7 separate regions of the Homo sapiens genome follow, and regions 1, 2, 3, 4, 5 and 7 are each linked to region 6. Evidence: promoter capture Hi-C in 16 types of primary human blood cells and fetal thymus (Javierre and others, 2016). All regions are on one chromosome and are shown on one strand. The core of a region is centred on a gene start or on the middle of the fragment in contact, and the rest is flanking DNA. Distances in the headings are between cores, read along the strand shown.

Region 1 (3,000 bases), core at 274-2,773, 470 kb after region 6:
AGATACTCTTATTTCATTGGTCTGGGTGAGCCTAGGCTGAGATTTTTAACAGCTTTCCATTTAATGATAATGTGCAACCAGTTAAAAAAATCAACGCTCCAGGAATGTGACTTTCAAACTACTGCCTGTGTCAGAGTTGGCTGGAGGGCTTGTCAAAACAGTCTGCTGGGCCCCCTCCCAGAGTTTCTGATTCTGTGAGTCAGGGTGGGGCTTGAGCATCTGCATTTCTTTCTTTTCTTTCCTCTCTCTCTCTCTCTTTTTTTTTTTTTTTTTTTTGAGACAGAGTCTCAGCTCTGTTATTCAGGCTGGAGTGCAGCGGTGAAATCTAAGCTCACTGCAACCTCCACCTCCCAGTTTCTTTTTTTTTAAGACAGTTTTTTTTCTTGTCACCAGGCTGGAGCGCAATGGTGGGATCTTGGCTCACTGAAAACTCTGCCTCCTGGGTTCAAGTGATTCTCCTGCCTCAGCCTCCTGAGTAGCTGGGATTACAGGTGCCTGCCACCACACCCGGCTAACTTTTGTATTTTTAGTAGAGATGGGGTTTCGCCATGTCGGCCAGACTGGTCTCGAGCTCCTGACCTCCGGTGATCCACCCACCTCAGCCTCCCAAAGAGCTAGGATTACAGGCATGAGCCACTGCACCCAGCAACCTTCCAATTTCAAGGGAATCTCCTGCCTCAGCCTCCCAAGTAGCTGGGATTACAGGCACACACCACCATACCTGGCTAATTTTTGTATTTTTATTAGAGACAAGGTTTCACCATGTTGGCCAGGCTGGTCTCAAACTCCTGACTTCAAATGATCCTCCTGCCTCGGCCTCCCAAAGTGCCGGGACTACAGGTGTGAGCCACCATGCCCAGCCAGAGAATCTGCATTTCTAACAAGTTCCCAAGTAATGCTGTAGCTGCTGGTTGGGGACACCCTTTGAGAATTCCTGCTCTAGAGGGACACAAAATGATCTCTAAATTAGGGATTATGAAACAGTCATCTGAATCACCTGATAAGTTTTCTGAAAATACAGATTCCAGAGCTCAACCTCAGACCCACTGAGGATTCCAAAAATCCTGTAGTTTTAAAAAACTTCCCAAGTGTTTCTATTGGGTAGCCAGTTTTGAGAACCTCTGCACTATACTTCCCATCTCAGTTATGATTTTGACACCGGAAAAAGGCTTTGAGGTAAGGGTTTGAGGAAAACATCATGACCCCCTCAATCAATAGCTCTCATTAAATAAGGAAAAAGAGACTCACCTGTCAGGATAGCCATCTGAATTGAGGGGACACATGTAGTTCACTTCCTTGAGGTTGACATTTGAGAAGACCAATTTGTGGTTGCTGCTATAGATGACAGTGGGGCGGTCAGAACAAGCAAAGACGTTGGTGGTAGAAAGAGAACGAAAAGTCCTCAATACGGTGGGCTGGGTGCCCAAAGTCACCTTCTTACGGTCGCTCAACAGACCTACAGAGAGAATGACATCAGGAGAAAGGAAGAAAGAAAACAGGACAAAAAGCTGGCCTGTGAAAGTTCAAAAGCAGAACCCTGGGACTAAGAATTCTGTGTAATTCTAATACTCTATTTTTGAAAGAGTCCCTCACTCAAAATACTACTCTCACCTGTCTCAATGTTGAGCCCAAAGTAGAAAAGCGCTCCATCTCCCAAGGCACAAAGGAGGTAATGGCTACTCTCAAAGGTGGTCATCAGGATGGAGCGAGGAATGATCTCTGTGAGAAAGGGGGACATTATGTTCTTGTTCCACATTTTGACTCTGTCCCAACCCAGGTCCCTAAATGACACATACCTCCACCCAGCATCTCCTTGTGCAGTAGTTCAAAAGAGGGCAACTTCAAGATACGAGCCGAGATGTCCGTCCAGAGGCCAATGGCACAAAGAGGGGACAGTCCATTGCTGTCTCCTAATGGGGTGATGTCCAAGCAAGCCACTTCATGTTCCATCTCTGTGTGGCTGAACAAAGAAGAATATGGCAGAGGAAGGAATCCAAGGCTCAAAGAAGTCCTAGAGAAAAGAGGAGGAAAGCGAGCAGACAGAAAAACACACACACCTGATCTGCCGGAGCTCCTGAGGATGGATCTGCAGATAGTAGAGGGCCCTGCCTACAGCCACCACCACCTGGCTGCTATTGCAGGAGGCCACACTGATGTTCTTGGCCTGAGGCTCCTTCCATTCACTGACCAGAGCTTTGGGTTCTTGAGAGACCAACCTCACCGATGCTGAAGTGATCTAGATAAACAGCAGATGAACAAATGTCTCCAAGCATCTGCCAGGGTCCACACAGGAGTGGAAAGGTGGTAAATGCAGCCCTAATAGAGCCCTACGAATAAGCTACATGAGGCTTCTATTTCTTATTCCCCAAAGTCCTGCTAATGATTACAATAGATGTCATTTTTGCATGAATGCCTGAAGGAGGCCAGCTTAAAAGTAGCTTACAGCTTACAAACCTACAGCTGGTGGGGAAAAGGCCTATTTCATTCTAATTGAGACTTACTTGGGTAATACAAACTGCATCCTGTGGGAAGATATGAATAGAGTAAGACCCTGTGACCACCAGTTTTTTGGCTTTTTTTTTTTTTTTTTTTTTTTTGGGACAGAGTCTCTCTCTGTTGCCCAGGCTGGAGTGCAGTGGTGCAATCTCAGCTCACCACAACCTACGCCTCCCAGGTTCAAGCCATTCTCCTGCCTCAGCCTCCCAAGTAGCTGCGATTACAGGCGCATGCCACCATGCCTGGTTAACTTTTGTTTTTTGAGTAGAGATGGGGTTTCACCATGTTGGCCAGGCTGATCTTGAACTCCTGACCTCATGATCCACCTGCCTTGGCCTCCCAAAGTGCTGGGATTACAGGCGTGAGCCACCATGTTGACTGTGACCACCAGTCTTAGCAGTTTTTCTCAACCCCCAAATCAGACCTCTAAAATATCTAAGTTCTTTACTGTGTATGAGCCATTTAAATTATTTAAAGTTCCTTAGTAAAGATTACAAAATTGTA
Region 2 (3,196 bases), core at 396-2,895, 360 kb after region 6:
GGGTTTGGGTTGCAAATAAAGTAGCGCAGCAGAAGCAAGCTGGGCCTATCAAAACAGGTTGGTTGCAAAACATGTGCCATATCTTGTGGTCCTATATTTGTAAGTAAATCAATATATTCATTTACTACGCCAGTGGTGGTTAGTTCTGGGTAGTGGGGTTAAAAGTCATTTAAAAAATTTTATTTACCTATAAATAATCTACAATGATAATGTATTACTTCTATACTTGAGCCAAAAAAGTTATCATCAATTTAACTTTTAAAACCTGCGGGCATCTCTGGAGAAGCAGCCCAGGTCTGGGACTGGGGAGTGGAAAACACAATGTTCTCTTTGGTGTTGGAAGATCCTGTCCCTGGGGTGAGACCTTGATTGAAAACTGCGAGGGGACCAGCTGCCCCAATGCCTATCAGACCAGCTCGATAACATTTATCATGCTTAAGTGCTCTGTCTCAGGCTTGCCGTGACTAGGTTCCTTAGATCTCATTCCATTGCTTGATTTGATTGGTTCATGGAATATTTATGAACACCTGTGCCCTTGGCAGGGGCTGCCCTGCATCGGAGACACTGCTACCAGTGCCCCTGAAAGCCAGGCAATACCATACTGAGTGCCAGGCAGGGCTAATGGCAAAGTAAACGTTGTTGTCTAATCTTTCAGCCGGGCCAGTCTAGTACAATGAGATGATGTGGCTTCCTTGCTGGCAGCCACGGATCAGCCCTGGCTGAAAATCAGATCTCATGGGAGCACGTAGTTGCAGAATCAGGATTCCCTTTTCCATCCCAAGGGTTCTTCTGGTCAAGGGGGCTGAGTGGAATGGCTTCTCCAAGTGCCCCTGGGATGGAGGCTGCAGCCATCATGGAATGTTCCTGTCACACACTAACCCATGAGCAGAAACCAGGTGGATGTACATAGTCACATAGTCTGGCCAGGGACCAGAGCCTCCTGAGACCCAGGTTCAGGTCCCATCTGTGTCATTACTTAGTTATGTGAACCTGCACTGATCACTTAACCCCTCTGAGCTATGTCCGTTGGGAAAAAGTGGGAGTAATAGTTTAATAATTCTTTTTAAAATAATTCAAAGCATTCAGAAAAGCACAAATAGGCACACAAATGTAAGCACTACTATGTTGAGGGAGGTTTGCAGATGACCTGACCAACAACGTCACCTTCTCCCTTTTCAGATCACTCATATTGCCTGAGCAGAAAACCACCTAGCAGAGCACTGAAATGGTCCCAAAAGAGGGAAGAGCAAGAGGCAACCAGGTGGATCTTTTTGGAGTTTTCAAGAGGTTTCCAGTCCTGCTTTCTATTGCTGATGACAAGTTAACACACACTGAATGACTTACAACAACTCACACTGACTCACTATCTCACTGTTTCTGTGGGTCAGGAATCCAGGCTCGGTACAGCTGAGGCCTCTGTCAGTCAGGGATGTCAGCCTGGTCTGTGGTCTCATCTGAGGCTTGACTAGAGAAGGATCTGCTTCCATGCTCACACGCTTGCTGGCAGGATTCAGTTACTTGTAGATTGTCACACTGAAGGCCTGAGTTCCTTGCTGGCTGTCAGCTGGAGGCCACCCTTGGGTCCTTCCCCTTGGGCCTCTTTATAGGGCAGCTTTCTTTATCAGAGCCAGCAAGAGGAAGAGTCTATACAGACAGTGTGCTAGCAAGACACAAGCTACAAGCCTGTATAATGTCATCGCAAAAGCAACATCCCATCTACTTTGCTGTATCCTGTTGGCTAGAAGCAAGTCCTGCCTACACAAAAGGGGAGGGGATTACGCAGGGATGTGAACACCAGCAGCATGAATAATTGGGGGCCATCCTACAGTCTCTCTGCCATACCCCTGAATTGGTGTCAGCAAGCATGCCAGCGTCCCTCAGGGTGCTAAAATCTCTAATGTGGAGAAACATTATCATCTTCACCAATCTGAGAGCTTCCCCTCAATGTGATCCAAATATCCATCCAGGTGGAAAGGAAGAGCCCCTTCCACACCAGCTTTCCCTTCAACTGACCACAAATGCGCCAAAGGCACGGCCTAGTCCTACCATGCTCAGGGATGTACCCTCTGCAGCTAGAGCATCCCTGCACGGTACACAGCAAGTGCACAATAAGGCATTTGAATGAATGTGTAAAGGGGCTTGCAGGTTTCTGCCTGGGGAATCTTCCTTCTGCTTCCCAAATATACTTCTCTGCTCAAAATTCCCATGTGGGCCCCAGACAAACTGTGCCCCCAAAATCAGTGCCCATCCTTGGGCTCCAAGCTCCCTCCCTTCCATCTGGTGGCAGCCTTGAGTGAGGGGATTCCATCTGGTGCCCCCAGAACTTAGGCAGCATCTTCAGGACCATCAGGTTCTTCACATGAGTGCTAGGATCAACCCATACTTAGGTGATGGATACTCCAAATACCCTGACTTCATCATTACTCTTTCTATGCCTGTAACAGAATATCACATGTACCCAAAAAAAATATGTAAAATATTATGTATCCATAAAGAGAGAGAGGGCCAGGTGCAGTGTGGTTCACTGTAATCCCAGCACTTTGAGAAGCTGAGGCAGGAAGATCGCTTGAGCCCAGGAGTTCGAAACCAGCCTGGGCCACATAGTGAAGCCCTGTCTCTACAGAAAATACAAAAGTTAGCTCGGTGTAGTGGCTCATGCCTTTCATCCCAGCTACTCAGAGCCTGAGGCCAGAGGACTAATTGAGCGTGGGAGGCTGAGGCTGCAGTAAGCCATGATCACCCCACTACGCTCTACCCTGAGTGACAGAATAAGACCCTGTCTCATAAAACAGAGAGAGAGGCTTGAGAGGGAGGAAAGAAAGAGGAAGAGAAGGAGGCACCAGAAGACATGAACGTGGAAAATACAAGGGCTAGTCATACTGGAGTGAGATTCACAGTTAAAAAAAAAGAAAAGAAAACAAAAGAAAATGGGCCCAGGATTCACATTTGGGGCACAAAGATGTCAACTAACAGGGGAGTCTGTAATGTCAATGTGTTTTCTACCAACCACCACTGTCCCTGAACTAATCCACACTGCCCACTCCTCAATACTCACCTGGAGGCACTGGGGGCAACTTGGAGCTTTTATAGAACCTGTGGCTCTCATGGCTGGACAGTCTGAGGATGCCCCAGGGGATCCGATTTCAGAACAAGACCCTGAGACAGGGCTTCCTATCTACCTGGTGACCTCCCCGCT
Region 3 (3,268 bases), core at 6-2,505, 420 kb after region 6:
ATCAGCCTCCCAAAGTGCTGGGATTACAGGCGTGAGCCACCACGCCAGACCTGGAGGTCACCTCTTTGGGTCTCAGTTTCCCCAGGTGGAGGTAGGAGGGCACGGTGGGAAAGAGGACAGGATAGGAAATAAGAGAGACCTAGGCTTAAGTCTTACACACCAACTAGAAACTTAACTTCTTTGAGCCTCCATTTCCCCACCTGCAAAATGGAGATAACATAGCAGCCACGCTGGAACACTCCATGAACATTTAAATGAGGTAATACATTTAAATAAGGTATAAAATGCTCAGTATGCTGCCTGGCACATTAGCTAGCAATCAGTCTCTAGACAGTCAGGGGACTAATATCCACTAGCATGCAGAGAGGTTTGTGGTGGTTACAATGAAGTACAATCTATAATGTCCCCAACATGATGGATTTGAAGGCTCAATGGATATTCCTGGCGCCACCCGCCCTAAAAGCTCATCATCCACAGATCTGAAGAGCTGCCCCCGAAAACAGAACATACTCTTCAAAAGGTCAAAGGAGTTAAACAAATATTTTATAAAAAAGGGAATTCAGGCCACCATCAGTGAAAAAAATTCCCTGTCTTCCTAGAAGTTTAAAAAACATAAAATAGATCCAGCAATCCCACTGCTGAGTATTTATCCAAAAGATTTAAAGTCAGTTTGGGGAAGAGAGCTGCAGTCCTGTGTTCACTGTGACACTATTCACAATAGCCAAGCTATGGAACCAACCTAAGCATCCATCAATAGTACTTCATTGTGTGCATATACCACATTTCTTTATCCAGAATGGAATACTATTTAGCCTTTTAAAAGAAGGAAATTACAGGCTCACGCCTGTAATCCCAGTGCCTTGGGAGGCCGAGGTGGGTGGATCACTTGAGGTCAGAAGTTCGAGAACAGCCTGACGAACATGGCGAAACCTTGTCTCTACTAAAAATACAAAAATTAGCCGGGCATGGTGGTGTGCGCCTATAATCCCAGCTACTCAGGAGGCTGAGGCAAGAGAACCACTTGAACCTGGGAGGCAAAGGTTGCAGTGAGCTGAGATCGCGCCACTGCACTCCAGCCTGGGTGACAGAGTGAGAATCCTCAAAAAAAAAAAAAAAAGGAAATTCTGTCATTTGCAACAACATGGATGAAACTGGAGGACATTATGCTAAGCGAAATAAGCCAGACACACAAAGACAACTATTGCAAAATCTCAGTTTTATGTGGAATCTAAAAAGGTTGAAGCCAAAGAAGCAGAGAATAGAATCGTGGTTACGAAGGCTGGCAGGGGCGAGGGGAATGGGGAGATGATTGTCAAAGGGTACACAATCTCAGCTAGACAGGAGAAATATGTGTTGTGTTGTGTTTTGTGTTGTTTAGAGACAGTGTCTCTCTGTGGCCCAGGCTGGAGTTCAGTGGCGTCAGTTCTTGGGAATCAATCCACTGTCCTATCTAAAAGCATCGACTCCAGTCTGAAACCCTGGCTCTACTACCAATCAGCTATGTGATCTTGAGCACAGCACTTCACCTGCCTGGGCCTGTTTTCTCACCTGGCACAGGAGGATGACAAGAGTATTGCAGGGGTGTAGACACATGAGGTGTCCCGGCACACCGTGGGTGCTCAACACATATTAGAGATTACTCTTCTGCAAAACGGACTCAGTTCCCATGTTGTAATTTAAAATAAAGAAGAAAGCATAGGAAGAGGTTAAGAAAGGGGATAAAGAAGAAAAAGGGAGTGCAGGCCGGGCGCAGTGGCTCACGCCTGTAATCCCAGCACTTTGGGAGGCTGAGGCGGGCGGATCACGAGGTGAGGAGATCGAGACCATCCTGGCTAACACGGTGAAACCCCATCTCTACTAAAAATACAAAAAAATTAGCCAGGCGTAGTGGCAGGCACCTGTAGTCCCAGCTACTCCGGAGGCTGAGGCAGGAGAATGGCGTGAACCCGGGAGGCGGAGCTTGCAGTGAGGTGAGATAGCGCCATTGCACTCCAGCCTGGGTGACAGAGGGAGACTCAGTCTCAAAAAAAAAAAAAAAAAAAAAAAAAAGCAGAAGAAGAAGAAAAAGGGAGTGCAAATAAACAGACATCATGGTGTGTGGCATCATGAGCACGGGATGAGGGTCAGCAGGCCACAGCACAGCTGTACAACCTTGCGCGAGCCGTGTTCCCTCTCTGAACATGGCTTTCTCTTATCCAGCCCTTTACAAGTTCTATGTACCGGGGAAGAAAAGTAAAATGGAAGAAGATGGCGGAGAAACTCCAGGACCCAGAGACCCACTTACCTGGACAGGAAGAGCAGCAGTCCCCAGGAAGCAGGGCAGGGTCGGCACAGGCCCGCTGGCAGGGAACCTTCTCACAGCTCACCTCTCCCAGCTGGGGAAGCAGAAGGAACCCCATGAGGAAGCCCAGAGCATCTTGCCTGCCCTGGGCAGTGCCCTCAAGGGCCTCTTGCACCAGCAGCAGGACCCACGGAAAGATCCCAGGACAGAGGCTGCAGTGCCTGAGCCCTCGCCTGGAGAACAGGTAAAGCCAGCTATGGCAGGACCCCCTTTGGGAAACCACTTCTCCCTCTGGACTTCCACAGAGGGAGGAGATGGTCAAAACCAAAGATATTCTGGCAGTTAATTAAAGGCGGAGGATGGCAGGAGGATGGATTTATGCTGGCTAAAGGGCTCCATGTTTTGCAAAGGGACAAAAGGCAAGAAGCTGCCCTCTGGCGGGGCCGCTCCTGGGTTCCCAGGCCCAGCTCACCTGGCACGTGCACCGGGTGCAGGGTTCATCATCCAAGGTGAACACCTGGCCATTCGCCACCTTCCTTCCCTCGTAGTTGCAGTCTGTGGAGGAAGGGGAGACAGGAGCCCATGAGAGCCGAGGCCTGGCCGGGAACCTGGCACGTGGGGCAGCTGGTCCCACTCACCTCGGCACACGGGGCAGCACTCCCCGTCAGGGTGGAAAGGGTAGGTACAGGTGATGGGGCAGTCCACGGGGGAACAGGCCACTGAGCCCAGCTGCAGGACACAGAAAACACACAAGGCCCTCGGTTCAGGGCAGCTGACAAGACACTCAGGAAGATGCCGCTCCTATAGCCACTGAGTGTCCATCAGAACAATCAACATTGTGGGAGGAGTCCATGGTGGGGCAGTGGGGCAGGGGGCGCATTTTCTCTGTTGGGGTCCAACTTCCCACTAGAATTCAAGCCCCTCGAAGGTAAGAACATGGACTTGTCCACGGAGGGCATCTGTTAACGGGTGCCTGTTGCATAAACT
Region 4 (2,909 bases), core at 48-2,547, 310 kb after region 6:
CAAGGTAAAATTCACAACATCTGATATACAATAAAAATTACCAGACATACAAAGAATCAAGAAAATAAGACTCATAATGAGGGAAGCAATAGAAACAGACCCAAAAAATACACAGATAATGGAATTAGTAGGCAAGGACATTAAAACAGTTCCTAAAACTATATTCCATATGTTCAAGAAGCTAAAAGAAAGATTAAGCATGTTAGAGACAGGGAAGATATTTAAAAGACCCAAATCAAACTTCTAGAGATGAAAACTACAATGTCTGTGATAAAAAGTATACTGAAAGGTAATATCAGCAGATTAGACAATGCAGAAGAGACCAGTGAATTTGAAGAAAGAGCAATAGAAACTAACCAGAACAAACCACAGAGAGAAAAGAAAAAGGGACTACTGGGAAAAATGAATGATCAGAGAGCTATGGAGCAACCTCTAGCACCCTTACATACATGTAACTGGAGTCCCCGAAAGAGAGGAAAGAGAAAAGGGAATAAAAAAAATATTTGCAGAGTTACTGACTGAAAAATTTCCAAATCTGATGAAAGCTATAAACCCACAAATCCAAAAAACTCAATGAACCCAAGCACAAAACACACAAAGAAAATTACACTACACAAAAGCACATCATCATTACATTGTTTAAACTCAGTTAGAAAAGCAGTTAGGGCCAGGCACAGTGGCTCACACCTGCAATCTCAGCACTTTGGAAGGCCGAGGTGGGAGGATCGCTTGAGCCCAGGAGTTTTCGACCACCCTGGGCAACATAGTGAGACCCTGTCTCTACAAAAAATAAAAAATTTGCCTGGCATGGTGGCACACACCTGTGGTCCCAACTACTTGGGAGGCTGAAGTGGGAGGATCCCTCGAGCCCAGAAGTTTGAAGCTGCAGTGAGCTATGATCACGCCACTGCACTCTGGCCTGGATGACAGAGTGAGACTCTGTCTCCAAAAAAAAAAAAAAGGCGGGGGGACAGGGAGAAAGAAAAGCAGTTATAAGGAGAAAAGATACATTACAAACAGAAGAGCAAAAAATAAAAATAAACAGACCAGGTGTGGTGGCTCATGCTTGTAATCTCATCACTTTGGGAAGCTGATGCCGTAGGATCACTTGAGGCCAGGAAGTCAAGACCAGCCTGAGCAACATAGCAAGACCCTATCTCTACAAAAATAAAGAATAATCATTAAAAAACAACTACCCAGGCATGGTGATACACACCTGTAGTCTTAGCTACTAGGGACCCTGAGGTGGGAGGATCACTTGAGCCCAGAAGTTTGAGGCCACAGTGAGCTATGATCACGCCACTGCACTCTGGCCTGGATGACAGAGTGAGATTCTGCCTCTTAAAAAGCAAGAAGAAAAAAGGAAAGAAAAATAGCAGACTACTGATATGAAACAATGCAAGCAAAAGACACTGGAACATCTTTAAAGCACTGAAAAAAAAAATAGTTAATCCAGAATTCTATACAGGGAAAATGCCTTCCAAAAACAAAGCCAAAATAAAGACTTCTCTAGACACCCAAAAGCTGAAAGAATCCATCACTAACAGACCAGCACCACAAGAAATGTTAAAAGGATGTCCTCAAGTCAGAAGGAACATGAAACAAGATAGAAATGTGGATCTACATGAAGGAATAAAGAGCACCAAAAATGTTAAACGAACAAGTAAATATAAAAGAACTTTACATTTTCATCTCCTTAAAAAATAATTGACTATTTAAAGCAAAAATAACAATGTGTTGTGGGATTTATGGCACGTGTAGAAGTAAAACAGGTGACAACAATACAAAGTCCAGGAGGAAGGAAATGAAAGTAAACTATTGCAAGATTCTTACACTAAAGTGGTATAATATCGCTTGAAGATAGGCTGTAGCAAATTAAAGATGCATACTATATACCTTAAAGCAACCACTAAAAAGTGTTCGAATTAATGAACCAACAAAGGAAACAAAGTGGAATCATAAAAATTATTCGATCCCAAAGAAGTCATAAAAAAGGAAAAAGGGAACAAAGCACATGGGACAAATTGAAAACAAATAGCAAGAAGGTAGATTTAAACTCAACCATATCAATAACCACATTAAATCTAAATAGTCTTAACACCCCAATTAAAATGCAGCTTGTGAGATTGGATTAAAAAGCAACCCCCGGCCAGGTGCAGTTGTTCACGCCTGTAAACCCAGCACTTTGGGAGGGGTGGGTAGATAACTTAAGGTCAGGAGTTCAAGACCAGCCTAGCCAACATGGTGAAATCCCGTCTCTACTAAAAATACCAAAAAATTAGCTGGGCATGGTAGGCACACGCCTGTAATCCCAGCTCTCAGGAAGCTGAGGCATGAGAATCATTTGAACCCAGGAGGAGGCAGTTGCAGTGAGTCAAGATCACACCACTGTACTCCAGCCTGGGCAACAGAAGGAGACTCTGTCTCAAAAAAAAACAAAAACAAAAACACCACCCATCTATATGCTGCCTACAAGAAGCCCACTTTCAATATAAAGACACAAATTGTTTAGAAGTAAAAAACTTTTTAAGAGATATACCGTAATTTTTAAATCCTCTATTTTTAAAAACTGTTTTATACGTAACAAAATTTACCATTTTAATCATTTTTAAGTATACAGTTCTTTCACATTAAGTACATTTACTTTGTCATACAACCATCACCACCATTCCTCTCCAGAAGATTTTCATCACCCTAAACTGAAATTCTGCACCCATTAAGCACTAACTTCCCATTCTCCTTTTCTCCCGTCTTCTGGCAACCACCATTCCACTTTCTGTCTCTACGAATTGGACTACTCTAGGAACCTCATGTAAGAGGAATCCAACAATATTTGTTCTTTTGTGACTGGCAGGTTTCACTTAGGATAATGTCTTCAAGGTTCACCTGTATTACAGGATGTATCAAAC
Region 5 (3,080 bases), core at 370-2,869, 280 kb after region 6:
ACACACCACGCACCACCACACACACACACCACCTGCACACTACACACACCACACACACATACAACACACACAACACACACACCACCACACACACATCACACACACCACACACACTACACCACACAGACACACACACCACACACACACATATATTTTTCCCCTCATGGAGTTTGATAAAATCACACAAGACACATGTCTACCCATGACCCAGCAATTCCATTCCTAGGTATTTACCCAAGAGAAATGGAAACGCCCACACAAAGACCTGTATGTGAATGTTCACAGCAGCCTTATTCATAGTAGGCAAAACCCGGAAACAAATCAAATGGTGAATGGAAAACAAATTGGCATGTCCGTGTAGTGAACTATCATTCGGCAATAAAAAGGAATGAACTACTTATGCGTCCAGTGACATAGCTAAATCTCAAATACATGCTAAGCGAAAAAAGCCAAATCAAACAAAATAAAATCCATGCTGTATGAGTCCATGTCTATGACATTGTAGCACAGGCAAAACTCATCTTTTGTGACAAAAAGCAGATCAGTGTTTGCCTGAGGCTAGATTCAGGGAAATTAACTATAAAGGGGCCTTAGGGAACTTTCTAGATGATGGAAATGTTCCATATCTAGATTATGGTGGTGGTTACATGCATGTATACATTTGTCAAATTCCATCGAACAGTATCCTTAAAATGAGTGCATTTCACTGTATGTAAAATTACCTCAATAAAATTTTTTTTTTTTGAGATGGAATCTTGATCTGTTACCCAGGCTGGAGTGCAGTGGCGCGATCTTGGCTCACTGCAACCTCTGCCTCCCGGGTTCAAGCAATTCTCCTGCCTCAGCCTCCCGAGTAGCTAGGATTACAGGCGCCTGCCACCACACCCAGCTAATTTTTGGTATTTTTTCTTTTTTTAGTAGAGATGGGGTTTCACCATGTTGGCCAGGCTGGTCTCAAACTCCTGACCTCAGGTGATCTGCCCGCCTCAGCTTCCCAAAGTGCTGGGATTACAGGCATGAGCCACCACACCTGGCCTAAAATTAATTTTTAAAGATCTCTTAAAAAGCAGACACCAGCCCCAATCTCAGACCCCTTGAGACAGAATTTCCAGGACAGGGGCCATCCTGCTGGACAGTGGGTGCCGAGAACACCTTGCCCATTTATCTGAGCTCCCTTCTGACTCTGAAATCTGGAGCCCCACCCTCCTGGGTCTAGCTTCGGGGCTGCCTGGGTCAGGGTCCTCTGGGAAGCCCCTGCAGTGCCCCAGAAGGGACGAAGCTCACAAGGGGCAAGGCAGGCAGCCCACGGGGCAGGAGGGAGCTCAACTGGGCGTCCTAGGGAGAGGGCAGTGAGGGGTGCCAGTGGGGAACCCCTCCCAGCCTGACCCCCACCACACCTTTCTGACCCCCAGATTTCCAGGCAAGGCTCACCCGTTCCAACTCGAAGTGCCAGGGCCAGCTGGAGGTCTACCTCAAGGACGGATGGCACATGGTTTGCAGCCAGAGCTGGGGCCGGAGCTCCAAGCAGTGGGAGGACCCCAGTCAAGCGTCAAAAGTCTGCCAGCGGCTGAACTGTGGGGTGCCCTTAAGCCTTGGCCCCTTCCTTGTCACCTACACACCTCAGAGCTCAATCATCTGCTACGGACAACTGGGCTCCTTCTCCAACTGCAGCCACAGCAGAAATGACATGTGTCACTCTCTGGGCCTGACCTGCTTAGGTGGGTAACTAGCCAGCCACACGGGCACCCTGGGCCTGGGCGCCAGCCCCGAGGAGACTGCCCGAGGCCTGTGATCTAGGGTCTGAGCAGGCTGGTGGAAGGGGTGGGGGGACCCCAGTTTATAACCACTCCCCAAGACACATACCCAGGAGGGGGACTGGAAGGGGCCAGCACCCATCTGTAGGATGGCAATGGAGGACCTAGTTCTGCCAATCACTGACTTCATCGTCGCCTCTGAACCTCCATTCTCCCATCTGTGAAGTGGGGTGGTACTTCCCGCCTCGCAGGAGGCTTAGAGACAACGTGTGGGTCAAGTGGACCTGGTGTGCCAAGCGGCACTCATGCCAGGAGCTCCTGGTCCTCTCAAGGCTGCTGGCTGCCCCCGGCCCTCCCCACACCACCCATTCCTCCCTCACCAGAGTGTCTCATTGCAGAACCCCAGAAGACAACACCTCCAACGACAAGGCCCCCGCCCACCACAACTCCAGAGCCCACAGGTAAGAGGATTCTGAACCCCCCACAGGGAGTCAGAGCTAGCAAATAAAAACCCAGGATGCCCAGTTACATTGGAATTTCTGACAAAGGTGGAAATGTTTAGTATTGGTGTGTTCTACGCAATATTTGGGACCCCATCACCTCCCAAGGCTAAGCGTTAGTCAGTAGTTGTCCACAAGTTGGGGCCAAACAGCAAGGAGTGCCCAGGAAGCCCTCGGCGCTCAGGGTGGCTCCCCCTCCTGCTCTCTCCTCTCCTAGCTCCTCCCAGGCTGCAGCTGGTGGCACAGTCTGGCGGCCAGCACTGTGCCGGCGTGGTGGAGTTCTACAGCGGCAGCCTGGGGGGTACCATCAGCTATGAGGCCCAGGACAAGACCCAGGACCTGGAGAACTTCCTCTGCAACAACCTCCAGTGTGGCTCCTTCTTGAAGCATCTGCCAGAGACTGAGGCAGGCAGAGCCCAAGACCCAGGGGAGCCACGGGAACACCAGCCCTTGCCAATCCAATGGAAGATCCAGAACTCAAGCTGTACCTCCCTGGAGCATTGCTTCAGGAAAATCAAGCCCCAGAAAAGTGGCCGAGTTCTTGCCCTCCTTTGCTCAGGTAAGTGAGACCTGGCCAAGCCCCATGACACCTTCTGCTGCCCTAGGTGGGGTCACAGAGCATCCCAGAAGGTCAGGGAACATGTGTGCAGCACAGGGCACTATGGAGAATACAAGGGAAGTGGAGGCCTGGTCTTGGCCTCTAAGAGGTAACAAGGGTTGGGGTGGGGAGGATGCATCCACACTCAATGCCTTGGTAATCTCTGCAAAGCTACACACCCCAAGCCCAAAGGAACCGCTGGCTCAGCTGCCACATGGGGAAGGGGAG
Region 6 (3,137 bases), core at 426-2,925:
TCTGGGGGCCACCCAAAGGCCTCCTCTAAAACACATCTCCCTCTCTCTGGTGAAAACCTGAGATCACCCTCTGAAGTATTTCAGGCTAGACTAGGATATGATCCAATCGGCACTGGAGAGTGATCCCTCCAGCTGGGGACAAGAGCTTAGGAGGCAGGGCAAGCCAAGGGGGACTGGAGCAGGGCAGAGGGGCATACAGTCTCCTCCAGCACTCTGGCAACACCTGCCGGGCTTGGTTCTGAGTGTCAGATCATTGGGGTCTCCAGGCAGGGGCAGGGCATTTAAGGAACTGAATGGAACTCACTCCTCTGACAGTTGGGGGGTGGAAGAGCTGGGCAAGGAGGTGTCCCGGCTGCTTCTGCTGTGGACAGCTGCATGGCCGGAGAGGAGCAGTGAGGCAGGCAAAGCCCCCCTGCAGGGGTCTCCTTGACTCAGGAACATGAGGAAGATGAGGACACTCTGATCCCTGATATTCTTGGACAATTTCCCAGGCCCTCTCACAAGCCCGCAGCTGGAGAAACAATGGTTTCTAAAAGAAACCACTGGAATGTCAGACGGGGCCCTGGGACCTTTAATGGCCAACCCCAGGCAGTTCCAAGAATTACACAACTGGGCCACTTCCAAGATGTTCTTCCTAAGAAGCATGCTGTAAGTAAATCAAAGCCCCACTCCTAGGTCTCACACGAAAGTCTCCACAGCCCCACATTCCCCAACCCCACATCCCGAGAGTCTTCTCTAGGCCTTGGGAGGTCCAGAAGTCAACACCTGCTCACTGGTGAGGTCCCAAAGTGCTTAGTAAGCAAAGTACATTTACAGGTGAATAGCAAGGGAAGGGAGGGGAGGCGAAGCAGGTTCACACACGAGCAAAAACCACTGTCTGGGCTGAAAGGAAGATCGGAGATGATCCAACCCGTTTCTAGAACTGGGGTAGAAGAAGAGGGACGTGGGAGGATATGCAGCTGGTCGAGGGCCCAGGTGAGCCACAGGACAAAGGTGGTGCATCTTATTGGTACCTCAACTTCCCTCACAAACGTTGAAAACGCTGAAAAGGGAGGGAGAGCTATGGATTATATACGGAAGCACAGGACGGAAGAATCAAGAGTGTGAACAATTAACACAGAAAAGACCGATCTTCCACCTCCAGGACCCCCAGGTAGCAGTCCCTCAGGTAGGTGGGAGGAGGACTCTGACAGGATCATTTGGGATGCACGAAGCTAGTGCAAAATGACCCCTATTACAAATGAGAAAACAGGCCCAAGGAGGGCAGGACTCTGCCCAACTGCACCGGAGTTGGCTGCAAAACATCCACTGGGCCTTGCCTATGGGCTCCTCGGACCTTTTTTCGACTCTGTTCTCTCCCTGAAATGGGTCCTCCCACTTTCCCTTTTCTACTTGCTCGCTCTTCTTTCCCCAGGAAACTTTGCAAGAAAGGCAAAAGCGAATCCCAGGAAAAAGACTGGCTCATCAATCACATGTTGACTGCGCTCGCGCGAATTGCGCATGCGCATGCTGAGCCCCACTCTCCCCAACCCCGGTCCCGCCTCTCCACCCCTCACCAACATGGCCGCCTCAGCAACAGCCCCCCTCCTGTGCGTCACGGACGCGGCGACTCCTGACGTCATAGGAAGGCGCCGGTTTCGGCGGGGGCTGCACGTGCGCAGGGGTGTGGAAACTTACCGGCTGAGCCATGGATACACCGTTAAGGCGCAGCCGACGGCTGGGAGGCCTAAGGCCCGAATCCCCCGAGAGCCTCACCTCAGTTTCGCGGACGAGACGGGCCCTTGTGGAGTTCGAGTCGAACCCAGAAGAAACGAGGGAGCCCGGGTCTCCTCCGAGTGTGCAGCGGGCTGGCCTGGGGTCCCCCGAAAGGCCGCCGAAGACAAGCCCAGGATCACCCCGTCTGCAGCAGGGTGCAGGCTTGGAGTCACCCCAAGGGCAGCCAGAGCCAGGCGCAGCGTCCCCCCAGCGTCAGCAAGACCTACACCTGGAGTCGCCTCAAAGACAGCCAGAGTACAGTCCTGAATCCCCACGATGTCAGCCGAAGCCAAGTGAGGAGGCACCAAAGTGTTCTCAGGACCAGGGAGTACTGGCCTCGGAGTTGGCCCAGAATAAGGAGGAGCTGACCCCGGGGGCCCCCCAGCATCAGCTACCGCCGGTCCCAGGATCACCAGAGCCTTACCCCGGTCAGCAAGCTCCCGGTCCGGAGCCCTCTCAGCCACTACTGGAGCTGACACCCAGGGCACCTGGCTCCCCCCGGGGTCAGCATGAGCCGAGCAAGCCACCTCCAGCTGGGGAGACGGTGACAGGCGGCTTCGGGGCAAAGAAGCGAAAAGGTTCTTCATCCCAGGCCCCAGCGTCCAAGAAGTTGAATAAAGAGGAGCTTCCTGTAATCCCGAAGGGGAAGCCCAAATCGGGGCGAGTGTGGAAGGACCGCTCCAAGAAAAGGTGAAGTGGGGGACAGCATGGACAGGGGTGGCGTTCTCTATGGTGTTGGGACCCCGCCTTTGCCCTGCTGCAGCCTGGAGAATAGCCCCAGGGTTAGAGAGAGCTCACGTTAGTGGGGATGTTAGCAAACAGGTAATTACAATCAGAATGTGGTAAAATGCCCTGGGATCCCGGAGAGGGTGGGGCCAGGCCCTCAAAGATCAATTTCTCTGATGCCTTTCCTCCTCAGGGTCCCTATGGGCCTCTCCTGTAGCACCTCAGGTCTGTATTCGTTCAACAGACATTTACCGTTGTCTGCCCTCTCTAGTGAGAGAAGCAGAAGCAAGTAAACCAGCCATTACTTGATCAAAGCAGTGAGGTCTTCATCCAATATAGTCTATTACAGTTATTTGCCTTTAAGATAAAAAGTATTACTGAGCACTGATTATATAAGGATTTACCAGTCAACAGCCTTAATAAGGATTTACCAGTCAACAGCCTTTCAAACATGGAACAGCATGTGTCATCACGCTTAATCTGCACGTCAGCCCTGTGAAGCAGGCGGTGTTATTATTCCTGTTTTTTGTGTGAGGAAACCAAGGCTAAATGAGTGGTAGGCACAGGACCTGAGCACAGATCTGATTCCGAAGCCTGTGTGCAAAAAACCCCTTTACCCAATCCCTGTAGATCCACCTTGAATTGGATTGCGACCT
Region 7 (3,020 bases), core at 77-2,576, 490 kb after region 6:
TCCAGAATTCTCATTTACTTCACATACTTCTCCAACTCCCTCCAGCTACTCCCCTTCTTGCCAAATCCGGCACCTCAAAGAGTCTCAGTTCATGCATTCAACAAAGCTACTTCCCTAATCAGACTAAGAAAACTGGACTGGACCTAAGAGCCGTGTGTCCTCCAAATGACAATGACTGCGTAATCCCTTCTCATGCCTCTTGCCCCTCCAATTTTACTCTATTACAGTTACAGTGGCAGGCTCTAATTGAGAATGCCGGAGAAAGTGTTCACTTCTTCCAGTCTTCATCTAAAGTCTCACAAAACTTTTATCTGACAGACCAAGTCAAATGAAGAAGTCCCAGAGCTTTATATGAAAACACTGTTTTGTCCACACCCCCTGCCCTCCTGGCAGTCTACCAATACCTCCATCCACACTCAGCTACCTCCAACTCTGAACAACAGTTTTGTTTTGGAATCATGATTAGGGTGTATATAAACATGCAAGCTTGGGGTCTGCATATTCAGCTGAGAATGTGGGTTAAGATGACTCTTCCCGGGTTCTGAACATCGGTGTCCTTAACAATCCAAGCGCATCGTCAACAAGGCAAACCCAGCACTGGGCCAGGCAAACCAAACCCTCTTCTCCAGCAGGGCCCTCATGTAAACAACAGCCCCAGGCAAAGGGGTTAGCCTGAAGAGGGCTCCTCTCCCTCTGTGGGATAATGCGGGCATTCCTCACATCCCTCCACCTCCTGGGCCCCCCAGACTTCCCCACAGGAAAATCTTGACCCCAAAGTCGTCATTACCACCTCCCCTTTTCCTGGCCACAGAAAGCCAATCTCCGGGCCCAAACGACACCGCACAACCAACTCACACTCCTCTGTCTCACTGGGCCCGCCCTGTTCTCGAGGCCGAATGACCTCCCCAGGACGAAAGGGGACCCTCGAGAGCGGCTTCCAACCCCCAAAAAGCGCGTACAGGGACGACTCTTTCGAGGTCGCGGTGCTGGGGGAGGTTCCTCGGCCGCCAGCGCCTTCCATTCGCCGGGCCCACTCCTGCCCGGCCGCCCCCGGGGCGGCGGGCCTCCCTAGGCCGCGGCTCCCCCCAACTCCCTCACTCGCCGGGGTCTCCGGCCCCGGCAGCCTCACCGGTCACGCAGCCGTTCACGGCGGTGGGCTTCTGGGCCGTTACCACGTAGTTGTACGACATGTCGAGGCTTGGAGCGGCCCGTCGGGACTCGAGCGCGACACTAGAAAGAGGGACACAAGCGAAAAGACAGGTGGCCCCCAACAGCGCGCAGCGAACTCCACTGCCGCTGCCTCCGCCCCAGAGACACGTTGCAGGCCAGAGCGGCCGGGGCGCGGGGCATCACGGGACGGCCTCACCTGGCCTCTTGGAGGACTCCCGAAGCCCGAGGCCGCCAACCGAAGGAGGCCCCGCCCCCGGAGGCACCGCCTCGCCTCTTTCCGCCAGCGCCCGCAGGACCCGGATGAGAGCGCACGCTTCGGGGTCTCCGGGAAGTCGCGGCGCCTTCGGATGTGGCGGATGCGGCCGTGAGCCGGCGGGGGAGGTGCGCCAGTGTCCTCCGAGCTCGCCCGCAGACTCCCCACCCCGTTCCGCGCCCTTTGCCCTTCCCCGCATCCAGTCCTCCTTCCGTTGCTCCAGGAGCCCTCGGGCTGTTCCTCCTTTGGGAACGGGAAGGACTGCGGAGGCATAGAGAGGGAAGGGAGACCGCGATTCGTGCATATCCCAGACTAGAACCTTGCCTGCTTTCCTTTCACTGTCTCAGTTCCTCCAGATCCAGCTGGTGCCCTCGCCTGACGTTTGAACGACCACCTGCTCACCTCCTCCCTTTTGCGCGTTGATTCTTCAGACTTCAAAGGGCCCACCGGTCTGCTTGCCCAACGTTATTAGTGCCCCTATTGCTCTACAAATTCGAACCTCAAACACAAAACCAGTATTTCTCCGTAGGGAACCTTAATGAGCCAGGAGAGCCGTCAGCCCTGCAGCCTCCAGGGTACCCCACATCAAACAGGCTCCCCGGGAACAAGAGGAATACCACGTGGCTTGGCACACTCGCAGAATGCCAGAGAGGAGCCAACCCCCATTTTACAGATGAGGAAGCTGAGGCTTAGGGAGGAATTGGTTTACCTAAGACCCTCCCCACAACCCCAAGTAGGCTGAGGCAGAGCTATGTTGATTCTTCCTATTGTGCACCCACACAGAGGCCAACACGCTGCTGAACCAGGCTGAACTGAGGAAAAGCTAGAAAGTCATCGTGGTTTACATCTTGCCTTTCCCATAGCAGAGACTCTGCCTGACTTTGGAGGCACTGAATTATCAGTAGTAAAAACACACTCTGTAGAAAAACTAGACATTGGTTTAGATTCTGGCTGTTACCTGTATTACCTTGGACAAGTCCCTAGAGCTCTCTGAGTCTGTTTCCCAGAAGTAAAATGGGTCACAAACCTGGCTAGCTCCCCCCATTCCCTTCCCTTTTGGTGCCAAGGCCAGTGAGGGCAAGCGTGTGACGAGCTTTGTTAACTTTTTCGCTGCATGTGATGCCCGTGTAAAAGATAGTTATTCTGAGGATCACTGTCCTTTAGTGATGAAGTGGGTGCTGTTCCTGGACATAAAGGCAGACCTGTGCTTGACATGGATTGATCTGTCTTCTGGCAGTGAAGTGCAGGCATGAACCTTGGTCAGCCCCACACTCTTCTCCATCCGTAGCCCATGTACTAGAGTTTGGACTTGGACCGAAGTCTGGGGCAGCTCCCTAATTACTAGGGTGCTGAAGGCGTGATTGTGCCAGTCGACTGCGAGTTCCTTCCGCAGCTTGTATCGTTACCCACTCCTGCAGGTGCTGCTGCTGCCTCCACTGTACTCAGACCCAGGTAGCACAGGATTGTCCATCCTCCAGCAGCTCAGTGCAACGGTGTGAACTCAGCCTGTTTCAGAGCCTCCACACCATGGTGAGTCATACAGGGCCGGGACGGGAATGGCAGCATGGTCTCAAAGCAGGATCCCAGCCTTGGGCAA

What was found. Contacts are between HindIII fragments. The CHiCAGO score rates a contact against its expected background, and 5 or more counts as called.
Region 1: a contact is called between a fragment that was not itself captured here and the fragment with the promoter of CCDC86 in region 6, in 2 of 17 cell types (naive CD4 T cells and total CD4 T cells). The highest score is 6.2, in naive CD4 T cells.
Region 2: a contact is called between a fragment that was not itself captured here and the fragment with the promoter of CCDC86 in region 6, in 6 of 17 cell types (total CD4 T cells, naive CD4 T cells, activated CD4 T cells and 3 more). The highest score is 10.0, in total CD4 T cells.
Region 3: a fragment that was not itself captured here is called in contact with the fragment with the promoter of CCDC86 in region 6 in 1 of 17 cell types (naive CD8 T cells); the score reaches 5.4 in naive CD8 T cells.
Region 4: a fragment that was not itself captured here is called in contact with the fragment with the promoter of CCDC86 in region 6 in 12 of 17 cell types (naive CD4 T cells, naive CD8 T cells, total CD4 T cells and 9 more); the score reaches 15.5 in naive CD4 T cells.
Region 5: a fragment that was not itself captured here is called in contact with the fragment with the promoter of CCDC86 in region 6 in 9 of 17 cell types (naive CD4 T cells, total CD8 T cells, fetal thymus and 6 more); the score reaches 10.3 in naive CD4 T cells.
Region 7: the fragment with the promoter of DDB1 here is called in contact with the fragment with the promoter of CCDC86 in region 6 in 6 of 17 cell types (naive CD4 T cells, non-activated CD4 T cells, total CD4 T cells and 3 more); the score reaches 13.5 in naive CD4 T cells.

The regions. Positions count from the first base shown.
Region 1 is chr11:61,312,251-61,315,250 of GRCh38, forward strand. It overlaps DDB1 (damage specific DNA binding protein 1), which reads right to left. Exons shown (of 27, transcript NM_001923.5): 13 at 2,058-2,236; 14 at 1,797-1,960; 15 at 1,612-1,719; 16 at 1,249-1,456. Among named protein-coding and RNA genes, the nearest start is that of VWCE, 18 kb to the left of the region's middle. The HindIII fragment of the contact is 4,082 bases long and covers 1-3,000 here.
Region 2 is chr11:61,197,943-61,201,138 of GRCh38, forward strand. LOC124902678 (a long non-coding RNA gene) reads left to right here. Exons shown (of 4, transcript XR_007062691.1): 4 at 1,180-2,928. Among named protein-coding and RNA genes, the nearest start is that of PGA3, 4.0 kb to the right of the region's middle. The HindIII fragment of the contact is 4,291 bases long and covers 1-3,196 here.
Region 3 is chr11:61,262,203-61,265,470 of GRCh38, forward strand. VWCE (von Willebrand factor C and EGF domains) reads right to left here. Exons shown (of 20, transcript NM_152718.2): 17 at 2,920-3,010; 18 at 2,754-2,836; 19 at 2,285-2,375. Among named protein-coding and RNA genes, the nearest start is that of PGA5, 23 kb to the left of the region's middle. The HindIII fragment of the contact is 9,219 bases long and covers 1-3,268 here.
Region 4 is chr11:61,154,158-61,157,066 of GRCh38, forward strand. The region is part of intron 1 of VPS37C (VPS37C subunit of ESCRT-I); the gene reads right to left. Among named protein-coding and RNA genes, the nearest start is that of VPS37C, 5.8 kb to the right of the region's middle. The HindIII fragment of the contact is 5,088 bases long and covers 1-2,909 here.
Region 5 is chr11:61,116,763-61,119,842 of GRCh38, forward strand. CD5 (CD5 molecule) reads left to right here. Exons shown (of 11, transcript NM_014207.4): 3 at 1,413-1,718; 4 at 2,153-2,215; 5 at 2,472-2,813. Among named protein-coding and RNA genes, the nearest start is that of CD5, 16 kb to the left of the region's middle. The HindIII fragment of the contact is 5,023 bases long and covers 1-3,080 here.
Region 6 is chr11:60,840,438-60,843,574 of GRCh38, forward strand. It overlaps CCDC86 (coiled-coil domain containing 86), which reads left to right and starts at 1,676. Exons shown (of 4, transcript NM_024098.4): 1 at 1,676-2,445. The coding sequence starts at 1,688. CCDC86-AS1 (CCDC86 antisense RNA 1) reads right to left here. Exons shown (of 2, transcript NR_182293.1): 2 at 1,369-1,543. RefSeq lists enhancers at 766-1,965, 1,872-2,101. The HindIII fragment of the contact is 9,112 bases long and covers 1-3,137 here.
Region 7 is chr11:61,331,779-61,334,798 of GRCh38, forward strand. DDB1 (damage specific DNA binding protein 1) reads right to left here and starts at 1,327. Exons shown (of 27, transcript NM_001923.5): 1 at 1,130-1,327. The coding sequence starts at 1,190. TKFC (triokinase and FMN cyclase) reads left to right here and starts at 1,450. Exons shown (of 18, transcript NM_015533.4): 1 at 1,450-1,551; 2 at 2,842-2,953. The coding sequence starts at 2,951. RefSeq lists enhancers at 889-1,411, 1,412-1,934 and a silencer at 1,330-1,589. The HindIII fragment of the contact is 9,653 bases long and covers 485-3,020 here.